Regions from separate parts of the Homo sapiens genome. Here regions 2, 3, 4, 5, 6 and 7 are each linked to region 1. Evidence: promoter capture Hi-C in 16 types of primary human blood cells and fetal thymus (Javierre and others, 2016). All regions are on one chromosome and are shown on one strand. Each heading gives the region's core, a stretch centred on a gene start or on the middle of the fragment in contact. The rest is flanking DNA. Distances are from core to core; before and after follow the strand shown. Region 1 holds the start of EFNB2 (ephrin B2). Region 2 overlaps LOC107984606 (a long non-coding RNA gene). Region 3 has its middle 720 kb from the start of DAOA. Region 4 has its middle 930 kb from the start of DAOA. Region 5 overlaps LOC107984608 (a long non-coding RNA gene). Region 6 has its middle 910 kb from the start of DAOA. Region 7 overlaps LOC105370343 (a long non-coding RNA gene).

Region 1 (2,746 bases), core at 225-2,724:
TTCAGTACTTTGTATGCCTTAATGTGTTTTCTATCTTAAACTAGTCTTCACAAGCTTTTACCACTCCAACTGAGATGTATACGTTAAGTTAGACTAATGTTTCAAAAACGGATACTTAAAAGCAACGTACCATAAAAATCTTCAGAAATTGTTACAAAGAAGAGTGAAAGAAAACAAGGTGTTTTACCATATGCATTTTTAAATTTAGCGTAGTGGATACTTTGTTTTAAAAATACATAATTTGTAGAATTACTGCCCAGTTTGTGTTTGAAACATAAATCCTGGGGTGGACGGCATTAAATTGAAAAAAAACGTGGGCATACAGTATATTTTAATTTTTCATACTGAATCGTACATTTGCACTGTGCCTTATTTCTACCGTGTTCTTCCTACTGTTGGACATATAAAAAGATTTTCCTTGGAACTGTGACTTGATTAGATGCTGCAGTATGCTGGATCCGGGTCGGTGGACCGCAGAGCGCTCGAGATGCGGAGAAGCAAAGCTGGCCGCTAGTGGGCGCTGTGGCTCCGTGGAAGTCACGGACGAGCGTCAGCACCGGCGCTCGACCGGGAAAGTAGCGAGGAGTTCCTGCCAGCTCTGCTCTGGGGTCTTGCAGACGCCGAGTGAGAAGCACATGCCTTGACTTTTCCATCTCACACCCTCTAAATCTCTGGTCACTTTGGGAAGCGCGCGTGTCTCCTAGAGGCTAGTGAGACGGTCCCCGCGTCGTGCCTGTGCCGGCGACACGCGGGGAAAGCTCCAGGGGCGCCACCTTCCCGGGGGGCCAGGAGGGAAGGGAGACGCCCGCAGAGAAGGCGGGAGGCGACGATGCTCAGGCCCTGATTAGAGCTGCAAATTCCGGCGCCGCGTCGCAGGAATCGTCTTGCAATTCCCGGCCCCACTGACTGAAACTGAGCCGTAGGCGATTGGTACCAAAATCAAGTGAGAAGCCCTCGCCGAGAGGCGTCGGGAGAAGCGCGCAGAAGCCGGGAGCTCTAAGGGTGCGCGCGGAGTGCAAGTCTTGCACGCGGGGCAGCGCCGCATCTGCGGAGAAGGGACGCCGAGCGGAGCCTGCTGCCTTCCGCACTGCTCGAGGGAAAGCCGCGCCCTCTGATTCCGCCGAGGGGGAAGGCGCCCCCGGGCGCGGAGACAGGTGGCCCGCTACTCGGCCGTCGCTGTTTCCACGTCTGCACCGCGCCCAGAAGGCCTCTCGCCGCCCCGGGGGCGCCCTGTGCACGCGCTGAGCGCTTCTCCTGCCCGGCTTCTGCTCCGCTCCCGCCGCCCGCGGGAGCCAGGGGCGGGGCTCACCTGTCAGCCCGAGCCCCGCCTCGCGGCACCCAATGTCGGGAGGGGATGGCGGACGGACGGACCGGCCGTCCAACCAGCGCGCGGCCGCGGAGCCGCGGGCCAATGGGCTTCGCGCGGCGGGGCGGGGCCCCGCGTTTATAGCGCTCTGACAGCGCGGCGGCCGCGCTGACTCTCCTCGGCGGGGACCGCGGCGCCGGCCGGAGCGAGGAGCTGCGCACGCAGCGGGTCCCGGCGCCCTCCCCGCACACAAAGGCCCGCGCGCGTCCGGAGCCCGCGGCGGGGACCGAGCTCCCTCTTTCCTGCCCTGGGGGCCGGGAGCCGCGCGGACTGAGAAGGCTCCTGCGCGCCCGGAGGCGCCCTACTCCGCTCCGTGCTCCGGGACATGGAACCGCGCCGACGCGGCGCCCGCGCGCTCGGGCCGCTGCCCGCTGCACTGGATCTATAGTCACAGGCGGCCCCGCTCGGGGCGCAGCGCCCGCCGCCCGCGCCGGTCGTCTCCGCTCCGGGTCTTTGTGTCCCAGCCCGCACCCGCCCCGCGCCCACCCGCCAGCCGCGGCCGGCCCGGCACCCTGGAGCCGCACGGGAGTCGGCCGTCCGAGCTGCGTCCGGCGCGGCGCCCCGGAACCCCGAGTCCGCCGCGCCGCCGCGCCCCGCGCGTGCGCTCCCGCCCCGCGCCCTGAGGGCCCCGGAGAGCGAGCGCACCTGGCCCGGCGACCGCTGGAGCTGCGCAGCGCGCCTCGGAGCTGCCTGCGGGCGCACGCCGTCTTCCCCGCCAGTCTGCCCCGGAGGATTGGGGGTCCCAGCCTGCGTCCCGTCAGTCCCTTCTTGGCCCGGAGTGCGCGGAGCTGGGAGTGGCTTCGCCATGGCTGTGAGAAGGGACTCCGTGTGGAAGTACTGCTGGGGTGTTTTGATGGTTTTATGCAGAACTGCGATTTCCAAATCGATAGTTTTAGAGCCTATCTATTGGAATTCCTCGAACTCCAAGTAAGTGGCGTCCGCGATCCCCCTATGTCCCCGCCCCGGGGTCCGCCGCGCCGTCCGGGCGGGAGGAGGGGTCAGTCCGCGGGGCCTCGGAGCCTGTTTCTGGAACCTCGGTTCCCCGTCCCCCACCCCCAACCCCCGCCCCATTTCACTAGGTGGAGACTCCTCGCTCGGCTTTCCAACCCGAGCCCCGCTGGAACGGACGGTCTCTCCGCCTTTCCTCCCCCGAACGCTCCCAGGCGCTAAAAGCTACTATCGGCTCGGGTGTCAAGTCCGGGAAGGTGTCCGATGGCGATACCTGACCCTCTCCTGTTTTCGAGGACGAAGGACATGGCCACAATCTAGGCTGGCCGGCACGCGGGGACTGGTGGGCTCTGGAGAGAGGCGGAGATGCTGCATTCGCGGGGAGCGCGGGCGGCGTGGTCCGGGGCCCGCGGGCGGGCGACCGGGGTGGCA
Region 2 (2,916 bases), core at 201-2,700, 1.7 Mb after region 1:
CACTTCACTGAACCCAAATCAGTTAATATCATGGGAAACTCATTTACCTAAATGTGATGTGTGCTAGAATCCCTCAATTTGGATTTAGATTTATTGTGAAACAATTTGCTTTCAGGGGAATAAAAAGTCAAATTTACTAGAACTGTGGAAAATACCAGCAGCTAAGGTGGGATGCCACAATGCCACATATTTACAATATGAAAGGCAACATTAAGTCCTCTGCAATTCCACATAAATACAAGCATTGTCCAAGGAATAACAAGCAAGAGGGAGGAAGGTGGGCCCTGCCTTAGCAAGATCCGGGAGAGGAGCAGGCCGCTGTGCCTCAGGCCCATCCCTTCTGTAGTTCATCTAATCTGCTCACTTTATTGTCCCAGTGGTTTCTGGAACAAGAACATGGCAAGCCTACAATTTCTGAGGCACAGAATTGTGTTGAGAATGGGTGGTGATAAAAGTCAGCAGATGGATATTTAAATCAGCACATCATGCAAATGACAGAAGTAGGAGATGAGGCAAAGCGAAATACCAGGACTTCAGATAGGAGCTGTGACAAGTTAAGCAGAAATAAGCCAAGAAAAAGAGAAAACAAATGTATGTAAGTGGGAACAGGTTAGGGAGAGGTAGGTAAAAAGGACACACAAGATGTTTCATTCCAGTTTAATTGCACAAGAGCTCCTGTCTCTGGATGAGATGATTCTCCCACTGTGGTTCATAAACCAAATCATAATAATGTTAGCTAAGAATGCTACCTGACACCTACAAATCAGACCCTTTTACGGTAATCCTTTCTGTCTCCTGGTTAGTCAATTGTCTGAATGAAGATGTGGCCCTTCCATTTCCTTCTGTTTGGTAAGACAGCTGTGTTCCTGCCTGATTCTTTGGCCAGCCAGCCTCTGCTCCTTGACTGAACCCTCCTGTTCAGCTTTGTTCTGCTAGTGGCTCCCTGTACCACAAATTTAGCCAATCCTTATTGCTTACCAGTTTCTCCTTCACACTGGATTCATCAGCTCTTTTGATGAGTGGACACATTTCATTAAATTATCAAAAACTATATAAAACTTATTACTATCTACTACTATAATATACACTCATATAATGGCATTTCATATTACATACATTGCAGTATTATGTAAGCATATGTTATAAAGTTTGGTCATCAATATCCAGCAGCATTTTATTGCAAAAAAATGCAGCTAGCAACCTTGTTCAAAATCCCCCGGCCTCTGATACGCGAGAAAGATCCAAGATAAAAAGAGAAAGAAAGGATAAAGACGAAGGTGGAGTTGAAGCTGCAGAAGGCAGTTTCTCAGGAAGGTGGGCTTCAGCCCTCCACTCCCTGTCGCGTACTTCCCTTACTTTTATGTTCCAGCATGGAGTGTCTTCACCAAAGGGCATCTGAGAAAAAGTCCTTGGCCTTAAATACCTGGACCATTCCAATTTCTGTTCATATTTCTAACCAATGTCTCTCTAAGGAAAATTCCCGAACCAAGAATCAGCTTTTCATACACCCTCCCCCACCCTCACTTGCCCCTACGTATGGTTTTTCCTTTCCTTTTCCTCATATTTTTTTGCAGACACCTCTGTCATGATCCTTGAAGGATTTATAATAATCATATACTTACCTGTAGGTTTTTCCAATTTATAGTTAATTTCCAAGCACCTGTCAAAAGGAAGCCCTCCTTGAAAGTTTACTGATTGAATAAACACATAAAATGAACTAACAAATCGAAAACACAGTATACCATTTTCTAATATTCTGACTCCTAATAACAAACAAGTTAAAAGTGTTGTATATCTTAAAATTGAACCGATGTGTTGTAATATATGTATATGTAACAACAACCAGTGTTGTTTTAAGTCCATATAGGTTCAAAACCACAGAAGCTGTAGAGGGCAACCGAATTGTAAAATGTCAATAAACAAGCACAATTAAGCAAAAAGAAATCATTTTGCCTCCCTGTAAAGCACTGGTATGTTTTATCTCTAAACAGAGAAAATTGCCTTAAATTGGTTTCATTTGTTTAAGCAGTGGAAATTCTCTCTCTGTTTCTCTCTCTCTCTCTCTCTCTTTCTCTTAAACAAAGTTTGCACAGAGTCCCCAATATACAGTAAAGGGTAATAAACATAGTTGGTATCCTATATACTTGTTCTTCTCATGTCCTGCCCTTCGGAGGTCCTTGACACCATACAGTAGAGGACAAAGACTCTGCATAGCACAATTTGGAAATAACCATCTGATGATCCCTAAGGTCTTTACTGGTTCTACACTGCTTTTAGTCAATAAAACTGAGAAGTTTTTTTTAAAAAAATAGGCAAATGTTCACTTTTTGGTATATACCATTACCTGATCTGTATTTCCAATGTTCTAAATAGTTTAGGGGATTTTATTGCAATAATACTGGTAACTATGTAAGTAGTAAATCCATTTTTCTTAGTTTATCTATGACCACACAAGTCTACCTGTCAGACCAGAGCTGTAACATTGTACAGCTAATCACCCACTAACAGCTTCCAAGAATAGATAAAATTTGTGAAAGAAGTAAAATGATATTCTAGAGTATGTCCTAAAACATTATCTCATCCTTGTATAAAATATTTAGCCATACTGGAACTAAACAGAAATTACAGTATCACTAAAATATTATAAATATTATAAGGCATTTCCCATTGTATTCTAAGCTAATTTCAGACTTCACGTGCAAAGCTAGTCTATAACAGTGCTTATATCAAAGTTGCTGGGTGTGTGCATTAATTTTTATAGCTATTCACCTTGCACTTTCATTATTTGAAACACGACACAATATGTCTGTGAAACAGAGTCAAGTTTTGCATGCATAACCCCTTGCAATATGTAAAATCATCATACTTTGAAGCTCATAGGGTTAGTGTTGGTAACTTAAGAAGAAATGTATTTGG
Region 3 (3,156 bases), core at 346-2,845, 1.8 Mb after region 1:
TTAGACATCTCCAGTGCAAGCTTTACACAAATATTCTTTTCCAGTCTCGCAGTTAATTTTTCAAGTGTAGACATATCAGTTACTTTTTTACCAATTTTTTCTCTGGTGATGAGTACTGTCACTGTTTTTTTCTGCTTATATTACATGTCTATCTCATATGTGTATATAGTTTGGCTTTCTTTTAAAATTTACCTGTCTATATTATTATTTTCTTTAGAACATTAGGAAATAACTAGGTATCCACAACACTGCAAAGAATGTTTGACAAATATTTTTAAAAATGAGAAATAAATTATCTGCACATTTGTTTTCTTTGTCTCTGTTTACAGTATTTTGACTCAAAGCTTTGCTACTGTCTTGTCAATTATCATAATTCGGAGAAGATTTTTTCCCTGATAAATTGTATAAAATACTGCACGTTCACAGATATTGAAGAAATTATCATAATATAAAGAAGATTGATCATTGAGTAAGAAAAAGTACATTCTCAAGGTGTCTTATTGAACTTGATGCATCTCATCACTGAAAACACCAATAATCAAAACATTCAACATCTTATGATAAAAAGTTTCATCTAACTAAAATAAAACTATTGTAAGTAAATTACTCTGAAATGAGAATAAGCATGTAAAAATAAGACCATAGAGTGTATATACTAAGCAACATTTTCAAAATATTTAGCAAATTCAAAAAAAACTACTACAATACATTATTTCTAAGTGGGCTCTCCTATGAGAAACATTTTATGTAAGAAAACTTACTCTTTTCTTTAATCTCAGAGATCTGAGTTTCCCACATTAACTAGTTTCCACAATAGGATCAGAGTCCAAGGCAAACCATATTTTTTCTTATTACTTTTTTTTCACAATATATACTCCTCTCAACTCTTGATATATATATTTTATTGAAAGGGCAAAATCCTCACTGTGTTGTCTGGTGGAAAAGAATCAAGTTAGCCAACTCTACACATAATGTTATCTAATAAGATAACTAGCTAGAGAAATAGCAATATCTAAACATTCAATTTTTTAAATGACTTGTATGGACTTTCAGTTGTTCCCCATTTTTCTTTAACAGTTATTTATATTAAGAGTACATTTTAAACCAGGAAAAATAAATAAATAAATGTGTATTAAGAATACTGTACCCTATATGCAGTGATGGAAAAATAGAATTTCATGATAATGTTATGGATTGAGAGTACTGTGTAATTGGCTAGCAGCATTACTAACTATTTTGTTTCACAGGTAGGATTCAGACTCCTTCTAGGTTAATCTTTGCACTTCCTGCACATGACCTCACTGATCAAGCATGCTAGCAGTGCTCACACAGTAAGAATCTTAGCTCCGCCAGTGCCTGCCATGGTGATGAAGAAATGCAGAACACCCACATTAGGGATTGATCAGAGTACACCAAGCTGTCCTAAGCTGAACTAAATAGGATGAGACTCCCATATTTTACTTAAATGGAAAACTATTATCACAATGTTAAGAAAAGTTATTTTGGCCAGGCACAGTGGCTCACACCTGTAATCCCAGCAGTTTGAGAAGCCGAGGCGGGCGGATCACTAGGTCAGGAGTTGGAGACCAGTCTGGCCCACATAGTGAAACCCTGTCTCTACTAAAAATACAAAAAATTAGCCGGGTGTGGTGGTGTGTGCCTGTAGTCCCAGCTACTCAGGAGGCTGAGGCAGGAGAATCGCGTGAACCCAGGAGGCGGAGGTTGCAGTGAGCCCAGATCGTGCCACTGCACTCCAGCCCATGTAACAGTGAGAGACTCTGTCTCAAAAAAAAAAAAAAAAAAAAATTACTTTATTTTCTTTCATTTTTGTTACTTTTTTTTTTTTTTTGCAAAGCACTAGGCACTCAGAGAGAATTAGTAAATACTAAGCTCCCAAAGTACAAACAAATCAACTTAGAGGGACAGCCATAAATGCAATTTGTACTTTAAATATTTGAAATGATAATACAATGCTTTGAAGAGAGGACATTGGTATTTTGAAATCAAGTCCAAAAATTTTAGTGATACTATCATTAATAAGGAATACATATTCATATTAAAATATTGTTTTACTATTAGTCCTTATATTCACTGTAATAAATAGCAGATTTGTAAGCAGTTTTCTATGTTCATAGAGACTATGCCAGTAAAGATTGATGAGAATTCAGGGGTACATCATTAAAAAGGAGATAATGGAAGATAAGACGAAAGGCCAAAGAATCCAATGACATTAGCTCTTGTCATCTTGCACTATGTATTCTAGTATAGAATTAAACTAAAATTAATGATCAAGTGTACATTAAACTAGTGGAAGTTAAACATGTTAGTGTGGGTGATGATCTAAGTAAAGAAGCGTATAGAGTCAAATGGAATGAGCCAAGAAAAATTAATTAGATGACATCAACTATATGGTGGTTGTGAAGAAGGTTATGAAAAAAGGTAGAAAAAGAACAGAGGGATTTCCAGGTAAAAGGAACGGCATAGAGCATATTCTCGCTTTTTTCACTCAATCTGTCTCCATAATTTTACTCTTTAAAGAAAGGCTTCTTGGATAAAATTAAAAATTGGGGTAAGATAAGTGGTTTAACTTTTTTAAACAAATAGACACTAAGATTCATGACAAATAGTACATCAGGTAAGATGAAAGACATTTAAATATTGATCAAAATCACTTCACACACATATTGACATAACCAAAGCCATTTTCCTGACAATATTTGGATAATTCATTCAAAATGTATTATACATATCTCTGTTTATTATAGTGATATAATATAAATCTTTTCAGGTGGTTACATTTTATATTTGATGTCACTCATAAAAAATGTCTCTGGGAGGCAAGCTTTGGCATCACAAGGCTATGCTAAGAGAAATAAGGCAATTTATACAATGATTTCATTGAAATTATTAGACATTACATAGAGCCCTTTTGTTCCAGTGTGTTTTTGTCAAAGTATAAATTAAAATTGTATTGATATTTGAAACACCTTCAGTTGCCTAACACAAAGTTGCTATTAATTATTTTATTGTATTTCACATTAGGCTAGAAGTAATTTCTGTATATATCAATGTCTGTGCTGATTTTTTTTCATAAAGGTATAGAAATAAAATAGGTTCTGTTAAGGCTCTTTCTTATTGGTATGATATGAAGGCCTT
Region 4 (3,173 bases), core at 387-2,886, 2.0 Mb after region 1:
TTCCTCACATTTGAACTTGTAGTTGTTACAATGACAAAAAGTAATGTCCTCAAGCCAAAAGGAGCCTCACTGTTTTGGTTAAGGTTTAAAGAGCTTTACAACAGTGATCTGAGGCATAGCACCCTCAGAAACAATTCCTACCTGAGGCGGAGCTGCACTATGTCAGACTGTGGTATGGCATTTTACAATTATGCTGTCCTGTGCATGACACAAAGGATGAAATAGGATGAGATCTAACTGTGATCAGAAGCACCCTAGATGCATTAGCCCCATTCTTTCAGCCATGAACATATGTGAGGGCTTCTTAAGACTCTGGTTAGAGACCACAGATGTGCATGCAGGTGAAGGGAGGACTTTGTCCTCATAAATTCCACACGTTACGTACTTTTTTCCCCCCCAAAAATATGAGGGAGACATAAACATAAATAATATTTGAAAACTAATAGTCTTCAATATCCCCAAAGGTTATTTTCAATTGAATGCTTTTTTAGAGGAAACTCATATGTTTGCTTTCAAGTATATTTCACAAAAACGAATATAAAGTTGTTTTATGTAGTAGATGATAATTTTACATCTCTAAGTAATGCCTAATTCTTCTCTTCCAACTTCTTAGGAGAGAATTAGGAATATGTATTATTATTATTTTTTTATTTTAGAATTTCATCTTATCTGTTGTATCATATTAATACAATTTAGCGTGTTTGTTAGTTTCCACTACAACAAATGGCTATATACCTATTGGCTTAAAATAACCCAGATGTATTATGTTCAGTTCTAGAGGTCAGAAGTCTGAAATGAACTTTATGTCTCTGAAATCCAGCTATCATCAGGGCAAGTTCCTTCTGGTGGCTCCAGGGAAAATATGTTCCTTGTCTTTTCCAGTCTTCCTTTTCTTATTCTTAGGGGCTCATCGTTCCAATCTCTGCCTCCTTTGTCATGTTGCTTTCTCTCCTCTGACCTCTACTCTCCCTTTTTTTTTTTTTTTTTTTTTTTTTTTTTTTTGAGACAGAGTCTCGCTGTGTCACCCAGGCTGGAGTGCAAAGGGCATGATCTTGGCTCACTGCAACCTCCGCCTCCCAGGTTCAAGCAATTCTCCTGCCTCAGCCTCCTGAGTAGCTGCAATTACAGGCATGTATCACCACACCTGGCTAATTTTTTGTATTTTTAGTAGAGACGGGGTTTCACCATGTTGGCCAGGCTGGTCTCAAACTCCTGACCTCAAATGATCCACCTGCCCCGGCTTCCCAAAGAGCTGGGATTACAGGTGTGAGTCACTATGCCAGACCCACTCTCCCTCTTAGAAGGACCTCTGTAATAACATCAGGACCACCCAAGGCAATCTAAGATCATGTCCCCATCACGGGATTGTCGACTTCATCAAATCCACAAGACCCCTTTTCACTGTGAAGTAATATAGTCACAGGTTCTTGGGATTAGAGGATGAACATCTCTGGGGAAGCTGTGTTTCTGTGTACCAAAGCATATAAACTATAAACATAAAATAGACATGATCAAATGATTCAGTTCTTCGGAGAAGGTCAGGCTCTAATCATTGGCTAATACTGAGCAACAGAGGGATAAAGTAATATTCAATTTCATTGATAAATCTATCATTATTACATATGGTGCTCTTTTAGCAGTATTTTTGAATAATAATTATTCAAAATTCAAAATAGTGATAAGAATGCTAAATATTAAATGATATCAATTCTATTACCAAATGCAAAGAATAAATTTTCTTTGTGGAAAGTTGGATTTTTGGATCTTTTAAAAGTATTGTCATGTTATCATTGCATTAATCTTCAAAATTCAACATTTATTGTCTCCCTATAGAAAGTTACAGTATACAACAAAGTGAGCTTTTATTGAAAGGAAATATTAAATTGTATATCTGTATGCATACAGGTAATACAATTATATTGCTTATCTTTCATAAGGCAGATTTGAATAGAGAATTCCAGATCCCTGGTCATGTTAACAGTAATGTAATATATAGTAGATATCCAATAATTAATTTGTTGACAGCACTTTAAAAGTGAGTGTAGGTCAAGTTTGAATCATAATAGCAGAACTAAATTTCTAGATACTATCATTTGGTGGTTATTCATAAGATTTTGAGTGATATTATTGGATTAGATTTGTATCTTTCAGTTAGATTTTATTTTTCCAAAGACCTCCACTGATCTCTTTTTATTACTAAGTAGTTAATGAAAATAAACCCAAAATTGTCACATAGTATTACAATAATTGCATCTCATACAGATTCTGGTCTTTATCACTGTGATCTCTTATTTATCAGAGTGTGTAAATGTAGTTATGCAAGAATCACGTTCATTTTAAAACACAAATCATATCATTTTACTGCATTGCTTAAAGCTCTCCTTTTTTTTTTTTTTTTTTAACCATAGCTTAAATATGTCTCTCCACATACTGGTTCTGCCCGTTGCTCAAGCCTCATCTCCCTCGAATCACCCCTTCTTTACTATCCTCCATCACACATACTACGCTGACCTCCATTGTGGTTTTCTTTTTTTTTTTTTTTTTTTTTTTTTTTTTTGTTTTGAGATGGAGTCTTGCTCTGTCACCCAGGCTGGAGTGCGGTGGCGCAATCTCGGCTCACCACAGCCTCCGCCTCCCGGTTTCAAGTGATTCTCCTGCCTCAGCCTCCTGAGTAGCTGGGATTACAGGCATGTGCCACCACACCCGGCTAAATTTTGTATTTTTAGTGGAGACGGTGTTTCTCCTTGTTGGTCAGGCTGGTCTCGAACTCCGGACCTCAGGTGATCCACCCGCCTCGGCCTCTCAAAGTGCTGGGATTACAGGTGTGAGCCAACCATGCCCAGCCCTTTGTGTTTTTCAAAAACACCAAGCCCGCGCCTGCCTAAGGATCTCAGCTCTGCTGCCCCCTATCTGTCATTCTCATTCCTGATCTGCCATAGGTAGCTCCTTTCATCAGTCAGATCGAAATCTCACCAACACCCCATCTACTTTCACTCTCTTTACAATTTACCCGGTTTATTTTTTTCTAGGACTTACAATCCTCTGAAGAATTTCTCCCCCATTGTTCATTTTCTTTCTTCCTGCCTGGAATATAACTCCAGGAAAACATGGACATGACTGTTTGGTTCATTGTCCTGCCCCAGCGCCTAGAATGGTGCTGAATATCAAGTGAA
Region 5 (2,864 bases), core at 8-2,507, 1.7 Mb after region 1:
ATCTATTGCACTTAAAAGTCTAGTACGTATAATTATGCACAGTATGTAATATTTGATACTGATAATAGACAATTATATTAAGGATTTATATATTAACAGTATTATACTGTTTACCTTTTAGAGTGTATTCCTTTTATTTATATAAAAAAAAAAACTGTAAAACAGCCTCAGACTGGTTCCTCAGGAGGTATTCCAGAAGAAGATACTGTTATAGGAGAGGACAGCTCCATGTGTGTTTCTGACCCTGAAGACCTTCCAGTAGGACAAGATGTGGAGGTGGAAGACCGTGACATTGATGATCCTGACCCTGTGTAGGCCTAGGCTAATGTGTGTGTTTGTGTCTTAGCTTTTAACAAAAAATGTTTATAAAGTAAGATAAAAAATTAAAATATAGAAAGCTTTATAGAATAAGAGTATAAACAAAGAAAATATTTTTATACAGTTGTACAATATGCTTGCATTTTAAGCTGCGTCATTACAAGGGCCAAAACGTTAAAAAAATTAAAAAATTTATAAAGTAAAAGTTATAGAAGCTAAGGTTAATTTATTATTGAAGATAAATTATTTTGTATAAATTAAGTGTACAGTATTTACAAAGTCTGCAGTAGTATACAGTACTGTCCTAGCCCTTCACATTCACCCACTGCTCACTCACTCACTCACCCAGAGCAACTTCCCATCCTGCAAGCTCCATTCATGATAAGTGTCCTACACAGGTGTGCCATTTTTAACCTTTTCTACCATATATTGTTTGTTACTTTTCTATGTTTACATATGTTGAGATACATATACAGTGGCCATTCTTTTACAATTGCCTCCTAGACTCAGTACAGTAACATGCTGTACAAGTTTGTAGCCTAGGAGTAATAGGCCATACCCTATAGCCTAGGTGTACTATGCTATCCCATTTAGGTTTGTGTAAGTACACTCTATGATGGTTGCAAAATTGCCTAACGACACACTTCTCAGAAGGTATCCCTGTTGTTAAGAAACACGTGATTGTACACTTTTAGAAGCTGGCAAAACTGAACACTAAATTGCCTTTTACACACTATATGCTTACATTGTAAGATGAGTAAATTTTTATGAATATCACAATAAAAATAATAATCTTGCTTAAGATGTTACAAAGAATAAAATCCCCTTCTTTTCTCGACTCAAGAACGATGTGTACCTCATTCAGATAAAGTAGCTCTCAGATCAGCTCTGCTGCAGACTATTTTTTCTTTTTCTTCTGAACCATTAAAAGTATGGCACACACATGATACATATCTCCAAAATTTTTGACATGAATATCCTACAAATAGGACATTGTTTTTATAACACAATACCATTACCACGTTGAAGAAAATTAACATTATTTCTACAACATAATCTAATATATGCTGGATAATTCTAGTTTTTTTCTTTTGTCCTGAGTCTTTCATGTCTTTTTGTTGGTTTGTTTTTTATCTAGAATTCAATAAATGTTTACACACTTATCTGGGTTGCTTATCTTTAGTTCCTTTTTTAAAAATTTTTTAATCTCAACAGCCTCTTTAGCTCTTCTCTCTATAATAGGGGAAGTTTGGATGATTCCTGTTCCAGTTTTGTTGTTAAATACACAGCAATCATATGTTGATGTGTTTCCTGGAGACCAGCTCATGTTACACATTTCATAGTAACATACCATAAGTCTTGTGGCACCGCTCACCACATATTGTCAGGAGGCATTCCATGTGTTCACATTTTAGGAGGTAATAAATTGCATGAAGGTGGTCACCATCAGATTGTTTCATAGTAAAGGAACCTATTTTACTTTGAAATTGATACTTATATTTTGGTGGAACACTTTGAGACAATTTGAGTACTCTGTTCTCCAACCACCTGTCACCCAACTGAAGATCGTTGCCTGAAGCAATTTCACACTGAAAGTTAGTTCTAAAATGAAGAGATTCCAACTGTATCATGTCTTCTTTATTTATTACCCAGCATTTTCTGTAAAATTTTCCTTCTTTCTTTTCTTCTTATATGTCTAAAACTTTTAAGTTATCCCTATAGTCATTATTTTTCATATTAAATATGTTTAACACATTACCATGTTATTCATTTCCATAAACAAATAAATGAAGCTTGCATTTTCACTTGAAAATGGAAATATTAGACCTGGAATCATGTATTTCTCCGAGTAGCAGGCTCTGGTTCATTTAGTAGAAATGAACATTGGGAAATCAAGATCTGGGCACTAGGTATGCTCTGTACTCCTGGAATCTTGCACTAGGCCCTTACAGTGGCCATATATATCACAAGTTCATAGTGATGCCTGCAGTGAAAAGCTACCTTCCAGCATACTTGCCATCAACTGAAATGCCTCCAGGGAAAAGCTACCTTCCAGCATACTTGCCATCAACTGAAATGCCTCCAGGGAAAAGCTACCTTCCAGCATACTTGCCATCAAATGAAATGCCTGCAGTGAAAAGCTACCTTCCAGCATACTTGCCATCAAATGAAATGCCTGCAGTGAAAAGCTACCTTCCAGCATACTTGCCATCAAATGAAATGCCTGCAGTGAAAAGCTACCTTCCAGCATACTTGCCATCAAATGAAATGCCTGCAGTGAAAAGCTACCTTCCAGCATACTTGCCATCAGCTGAAGCACTTGAGTTGTTTGCTACTCCCTTCTCACCAGGTCCAATAAGCATAAGCATAATATCATCCCTGAAATGCTGTAATGTTTGGTAGAGTATGAACATTTTTAAAGTTCCTGCAGGCTGCATCACGATTGAGAGCAAAAAAGTTTAAGTAGACCTGCAATAAAATACTGAAGGTGTACGGCTGCCCTGTGAAATAAAGACAAATTGCTTCTGATTATCTCCCTGAATTTT
Region 6 (2,866 bases), core at 208-2,707, 2.0 Mb after region 1:
ACTCACACAGGAACAGAAAACCAAATACCACATGTTCTCACTTATAAGAGGGAGTTAAATGATGACAACTTATGAACACAAAGAAGGAGGCAACAGATGCTGGGGTCTACTTGATGGTGGAGGGTGGGAGGAGAGAGAGGAAGAGAAAAGATAACTATTGGGTACTCAGCTCAACTCCTGGGTGATAAAATAATCTGTACAACTAACCCTTGTGACATGAGTTTGCCTCTGTTACAAACCTTCACATGTACCCACAAAACTAAAATAAAAGTTAAAAAATATAACAAAAAGATTACATTCATAAATATGATGAATTTATTTATAAAACTATCTGAGCTTCTTCAAATTGCAGATTTCTAGGTTAAAAAAGTGTGCTAGAGAAATAAGCAAATATACTAAATTTCTATAATTACTTTTATTCTCTAAATCAATATTTAAATACAAATGTATAGAAGCAGTGAGTATTATAGGAAAATAATTTTCAAATCTTCATTTTCTGTCTTGAACAAATTCAATAAACATATTATACTGTAGTATGTAGCAGACAAAATTATTCAAATGCCTCTTATTCACTTAAATAATCTGCTTACAAAGAAGAGGTATGAGTTCTCCTTAAATTAAATAATATTTGGAAATGTACACTAGAAAATAATTGTCTGTTGATTGATTTTTAAATTGTTATTAAAATCTCCAGGATATTTTAGCTGCAAAACATACATCTCACCAAATAATAACAGTAGTTACACAGAGAATAAGAATGAGTGACTTCTTAAAAATTAAAATGTATCTTGTTTGTATCAACGTTGCTATGCATATAATTCCTATTTTGTCTTACAAAACCAGCTTAGTTTCTTTAATGAAATTGATACAATTTGGATTTCCATTGGGAAGGATATTTTTCCTCTATATTTTTAATTTTTTATAAAAAGAGAAATAACAGTTTTTAATATATATCTCTCTATCCAATATTTTAGATATACACGCACACACACACACACACACACACACACACACAATTTGCCTTAATTATAGCTTACAGATTCAATTCCAGCTGTGGCCCAGCTGAATTTGAAGCAATGTGTGATTTTGTTAGATTATAATTGGCATTTCCATTTCATAAAGCCTAATATCAACATACCTGGTTCCCCATGGATGCTTTTAGTGAAAAATGAAACTAGCAGATAGAAGTCATTACGTAGATTCCACATCAAATATTTTTGTCTTTTTATATCTAAAGAGTATATGATTTCAACACTTTTAAAGAAGAACTTTTATACTGATCTCTATATAAACTTCAATAAAGCCTATGTGTCATCGACTCAGAGAATGAAAAACGTGTATAATGTGGGATACGATGTCTTGTTAAACTTTTAACAAATTAAATATCATGAATTTTCAAAAAATCAATTATTTGTCAGCTATAGAATACTTCTAATACTCATTAAGAGCCTAAATGTGTACCCTTTAAAAATATTCAATTCATAGTAACAACGAATATTTACAGAGTGCTTGCAATTGGCCAGGTCTTGTTCCATGAGTGGCTAGATGTGATGTCATTTCTTCTTCATAGACATTTTCTGAGGTAGTATTTTTTTTTTTAGTCACAGTTCTTGTTCAGTGGAAGAAGAAACTGAGACATGGGTAGGTGAAGTAACTTGTGCCAAGTTACACAAATGATAACTGAATTGGGCTTAGCTGACAACCCATTTGGAACTGCCAAAGAAACCCTTAACCATTTTACCTTGGCAACTTCTCATAAGGCAGAAATTTTCCAACAATATCTTGAGAGTCAAATCCCCATTATTTATAGGTTTGGTAACTGTGAATAACAATAAGTAGTTAAGAATGCTTGTTCCAAAAAGGTAGACATCAAATGCATGTAAGTAGAAAAAAAGACATGAATTATTTATTCACACAGCATTCAACTTTTATTGAACAAATTTGACAAATGAGATTCACTTGAAATGGAGTGGGGAGAGACAGACCGTGTTCAATGAATCAATCCATGATAAGTGCAATATAGAAAATAAAGGAAGGAAGCATGAGTGAGAAAGTCCTTACGGGTGGGATAGTGGCGAAATGGTAATCGCTCAGACAGGGAACTTTGTGACATGCTGCCATCTGAGTGTAGACCCGAGAAAGAGCAAAGCACCAAGGCTGGGGGCCCATGAGCAGGGGATGTTTAGTGCACTTGAGGAGTGGCTGCAAGAGGAAAAGGTCTGGAGCAGAGTGAGAAAAGACAGGTGTGATGGGGTTGGAGTCAGAGAGAAGAGCTGGACCAGATCACATGTACCTTGTAGAGTTTGGCTAAGAGAAAAGGCAAGCTGGGAAGGGGTGGCCTAGGCTTCAGGTTGGAAAATGACCATTCTGGTTGCTGTGCGTAGGCTGGGTGGGGCTGAGGGAAGAGCAAAGAGGACAAGGGCAGGAAAGCCCAGCTGGGAGCCAACACAGAGGGAAGGAAGCATAGGAGCCACGACACATTGAGATGTAGAATGCAAAGTCTTCATGGCACGCGACAGTTTTCAAAGTGCTTTCATATCCTGCACAACCAGCAGTCTCGTGAAAAGGAGAAGAAATGTTTCATCACCAGGAGCAGATCCATCTTTAAAAGTGCTGACCAAAACACTAAATAGGTCTGATTCAGTGGAAATATTGTGCAAATACAAAAAGCAAATACTGTCTGTATCCATTGCAACAGCTAGCTGGTGTTTCATTTACACTGGAGGGGAAATATAAGGGAGTAGAGGTATCTCTGTTTCTCAAGGCTCAATCTCTACAGTCAGAGGGTCAGGGCCCAGGGAACATGGTGCCTACATATTGAGAACTCCTACTACAGAGCACACTTTGTTTATGTCTTAGTAGATAG
Region 7 (2,884 bases), core at 105-2,604, 1.6 Mb after region 1:
CGCTTCTCTAGAATATAAATTGAATGTGGAAGAGAAACAAAATACTTTTGGAAATAAAGAGAATTGTGAAAAGGAGAGAGTGTTTGTTGTTTGTTTTTTTTTGTACTGTGAAAAACCAGATCTCTGATGACATAGAAATTTCAAATGGATGCCCAGGCTAAATTTTAGAAAGTCAATGTGGTTTTCACAGTAGATTTGTTTACATTGTTTATTTATTATTAGTTAGTTATCATTATAAATACTCTCTTGAATAAAAATTATGAAGAGGGAAAAATTCAATAGATGTAATGTCTATATTATCAAAACCCTGAAGTATTATGTACCTTACAAAGAACTCAAAAGGAAGGGATTACAAATTATCACATATTTAGTCAATGTATTTATTTAATTGTGACAAGTGAAAGAACATTAAATAAATTATATTCTGTCTTCAGGCTAAACTCATTCCAATTAAGGGTAAGCATTTTGTAAGTGCTTAACATATGTCATTGTAGTAAAAACAACTTATATAATAATACCATGGAGTTTCACCAATGGCCCTGGTGGAACTATGACTGTTGTTGGAAACATGTTGTATTTTGCCTCTGGCAAAATCATTTTCATTTGCTCCAACTGTAGTCATCCATTTATCCATTTTCTAGAGCAGTGCTACTTTGGTTGCTAATATCACTAGTCCATCAAAATGTATGAGGAACTTAAATCTTTTATCCAAAGAAAGACTACAGGGATTTTCCCCCCCAGTATACTAGCCATTTGCTTTCTTCTAATAAACAAAAGAAATGTTGATATTAAAAAATTACATTTAGTATTTTTGAATATGACAAAAATATTTTGAGCTATATTTGAGCATGAGTAATTTGTGTATTTGATAATTGTTAAACAAATTGTTATATTCTTCATAGTAAGAATATTTCAAATGTGTACTTTTACTATTACTGATTATTAAAGTAGCAACCTAATTATATAATACTGTTCCTAATTCAGCTAAATTTTTTATTAAAGAAAGCACTTTTTATTTTGTAAAGTCACATGCAAGTATATATGTATTTAATTTTTTTATTTTAACAAAAAATATAATTCTACCTTTGCAACTTATTTTCATTTACTACTATATTAGGGATATTTTTTCGGCCATATCTCTCTTTTTTTCGCTCTCTCTCAATAGGTAAATAATTATATACTTCATTTTTTTACATCTCTTAAACATTTGACTTTGACTTTTATGACTTTTAATCATAGATATTTCCAAGTTTCAGGAATCTTATATCTTTACATTTTATTTTAGAATGAGATAAACAGCTTGAAGCCAGAGTACTCACTAAGTCAGTGATGAGAAAACTGTTAGCTCTCTACAAAGTCCTGACTGACTAACACTTAGCACATCACCAAACTAACCTCAAAATTCAATCAGTATATTTACTATTGATTACCATAATGTGTGTGTGTGTCAGGGGGTGTTTTAAAATTTTCTAGTGGAAATAATTGTAAAGGACTCTGGAAAAAGTTATAGAATATCGTTGCCCTTGATGGCAAAAATATATTTTTAAATCTATTGTTTCCTAATTAATATAATAATTTTGGCAAGGTATACTAGATTCTCAATTTGTTTTGAGACTAAACACATTTATTTTACTGTCTATATGTAAGAATGATGTGGAGAAATCTGGAGGGTAGAAAATTGGCATCTCTCATTTCTGCACATGTTATAGAGCAGAGGCAATGATCATCTTTGTTGAGATTACTTTTTCAGAATGTTTTTACAGCAAAAAGCCTTGGAAGATAGAGACAGTGTTGCACTCTTTGAAGCAAAGGGAAGTTTTTTTTATTGATTAGTATAATAAAGATAATGCTGTTCTCTTAAACGTAAAAAATGTTCATAATAATAAGATGTTTCTTTTTTCTACACATTCTTCTAGGGTTCCAGGCTTTCATGGTTGGTCTGGCTGTCATCATTTCCAGACACCAAAATGAAACAGTGGAAATCCAGGTCAGAAGTTGATTTTAACAAGGTTGCCCTTCTAATTATAGGGTTGGCTGATATTTAATCACGTGGTCACACTTAGCCCGGAAAGATAGTGGTGAATGTGGTCTTAACCTGAATAGCCCTGAGGAAGGAGAGAAAAGGTTTGGATAGAGACAGGCTGAACAACCACTGATACACGGTCTTTAAAAATCCTGGGCCGGGCGCGGTGGTTCACGCCTGTAATCCCAGCACTTTGGGAGGCCGAGGCGTGTGGATCACGAGGTCAGGAGATTGAGACCATCCTGGCTAACACGGTGAAACCCCGTCTCCACTAAAAATACAAAAAATTCTCCGGGCGTGGTGGCGGGCGCCTGTAGTCCCAGCTACTCGGGAGGCTGAGGCAGGAGAATGGCGTGAACCCGGGAGGCGGAGCTTGCAGTGAGCCGAGATCGCGCCACTGCACTCCAGCCTGGGCAAAAGAGAGAGACTCCGCCTCAAAAAAAAAAAAAAAAAAGAAAAAATCCTCGGTAACAAAGAATAAAAACAAGAGAAAATTTTTAACAAAAAGAAAGACTATGTGTAATAATCTAAAACAAAATCTAAACATGATAGCCTGGGAGTTGGGTGGACACCAAAGGGAGATGTTTCAGTAAAAACTGGACAGCCAATAGGACAATGGTCTCAGGGTGAACCATTTCTATAGCCTGATGATAGGGTAGAATTTCCAGTGGGACAAGCTATGAAGGTGGAAGACAGTGAAAATGATTATCTTGACCTTGTGTAGGCCTAGGCTAATGAGTGTGTCTGTGTCTTAATTTTTCATAAAAAATTTAAAAGGTAAAAAAATTAAAAATAAGAAAAAAGCTTATAGAATAAGGATATAAAGAAAGAAAATATTATTGTACTGGTATATAATGTGTT

Evidence for each region. Contacts are between HindIII fragments. The CHiCAGO score rates a contact against its expected background, and 5 or more counts as called.
Region 2: a fragment that was not itself captured here is called in contact with the fragment with the promoter of EFNB2 in region 1 in 1 of 17 cell types (M2 macrophages); the score reaches 5.1 in M2 macrophages.
Region 3: a contact is called between a fragment that was not itself captured here and the fragment with the promoter of EFNB2 in region 1, in 1 of 17 cell types (M1 macrophages). The highest score is 5.6, in M1 macrophages.
Region 4: a contact is called between a fragment that was not itself captured here and the fragment with the promoter of EFNB2 in region 1, in 1 of 17 cell types (fetal thymus). The highest score is 5.9, in fetal thymus.
Region 5: a contact is called between a fragment that was not itself captured here and the fragment with the promoter of EFNB2 in region 1, in 1 of 17 cell types (fetal thymus). The highest score is 6.6, in fetal thymus.
Region 6: a fragment that was not itself captured here is called in contact with the fragment with the promoter of EFNB2 in region 1 in 1 of 17 cell types (fetal thymus); the score reaches 8.8 in fetal thymus.
Region 7: a contact is called between a fragment that was not itself captured here and the fragment with the promoter of EFNB2 in region 1, in 1 of 17 cell types (fetal thymus). The highest score is 5.7, in fetal thymus.

Annotation. Positions count from the first base shown.
Region 1 is chr13:106,534,390-106,537,135 of GRCh38, reverse strand. It overlaps EFNB2 (ephrin B2), which reads left to right and starts at 1,474. Exons shown (of 5, transcript NM_004093.4): 1 at 1,474-2,293. The coding sequence starts at 2,172. RefSeq lists an enhancer at 377-446 and a silencer at 1,027-1,686. The HindIII fragment of the contact is 2,990 bases long and covers 57-2,746 here.
Region 2 is chr13:104,792,417-104,795,332 of GRCh38, reverse strand. The region is part of intron 3 of LOC107984606 (a long non-coding RNA gene); the gene reads left to right. Among named protein-coding and RNA genes, the nearest start is that of DAOA, 670 kb to the left of the region's middle. The HindIII fragment of the contact is 3,195 bases long and covers 1-2,916 here.
Region 3 is chr13:104,748,774-104,751,929 of GRCh38, reverse strand. No RefSeq gene overlaps it. Among named protein-coding and RNA genes, the nearest start is that of DAOA, 720 kb to the left of the region's middle. The HindIII fragment of the contact is 2,498 bases long and covers 347-2,844 here.
Region 4 is chr13:104,534,757-104,537,929 of GRCh38, reverse strand. No RefSeq gene overlaps it. Among named protein-coding and RNA genes, the nearest start is that of DAOA, 930 kb to the left of the region's middle. The HindIII fragment of the contact is 3,270 bases long and covers 2-3,173 here.
Region 5 is chr13:104,878,623-104,881,486 of GRCh38, reverse strand. The region is part of intron 1 of LOC107984608 (a long non-coding RNA gene); the gene reads right to left. Among named protein-coding and RNA genes, the nearest start is that of DAOA, 590 kb to the left of the region's middle. The HindIII fragment of the contact is 1,713 bases long and covers 401-2,113 here.
Region 6 is chr13:104,556,007-104,558,872 of GRCh38, reverse strand. No RefSeq gene overlaps it. Among named protein-coding and RNA genes, the nearest start is that of DAOA, 910 kb to the left of the region's middle. The HindIII fragment of the contact is 6,001 bases long and covers 1-2,866 here.
Region 7 is chr13:104,930,420-104,933,303 of GRCh38, reverse strand. It overlaps LOC105370343 (a long non-coding RNA gene), which reads left to right. Exons shown (of 3, transcript XR_001749998.1): 3 at 1,917-1,952. Among named protein-coding and RNA genes, the nearest start is that of DAOA, 530 kb to the left of the region's middle. The HindIII fragment of the contact is 2,950 bases long and covers 1-2,829 here.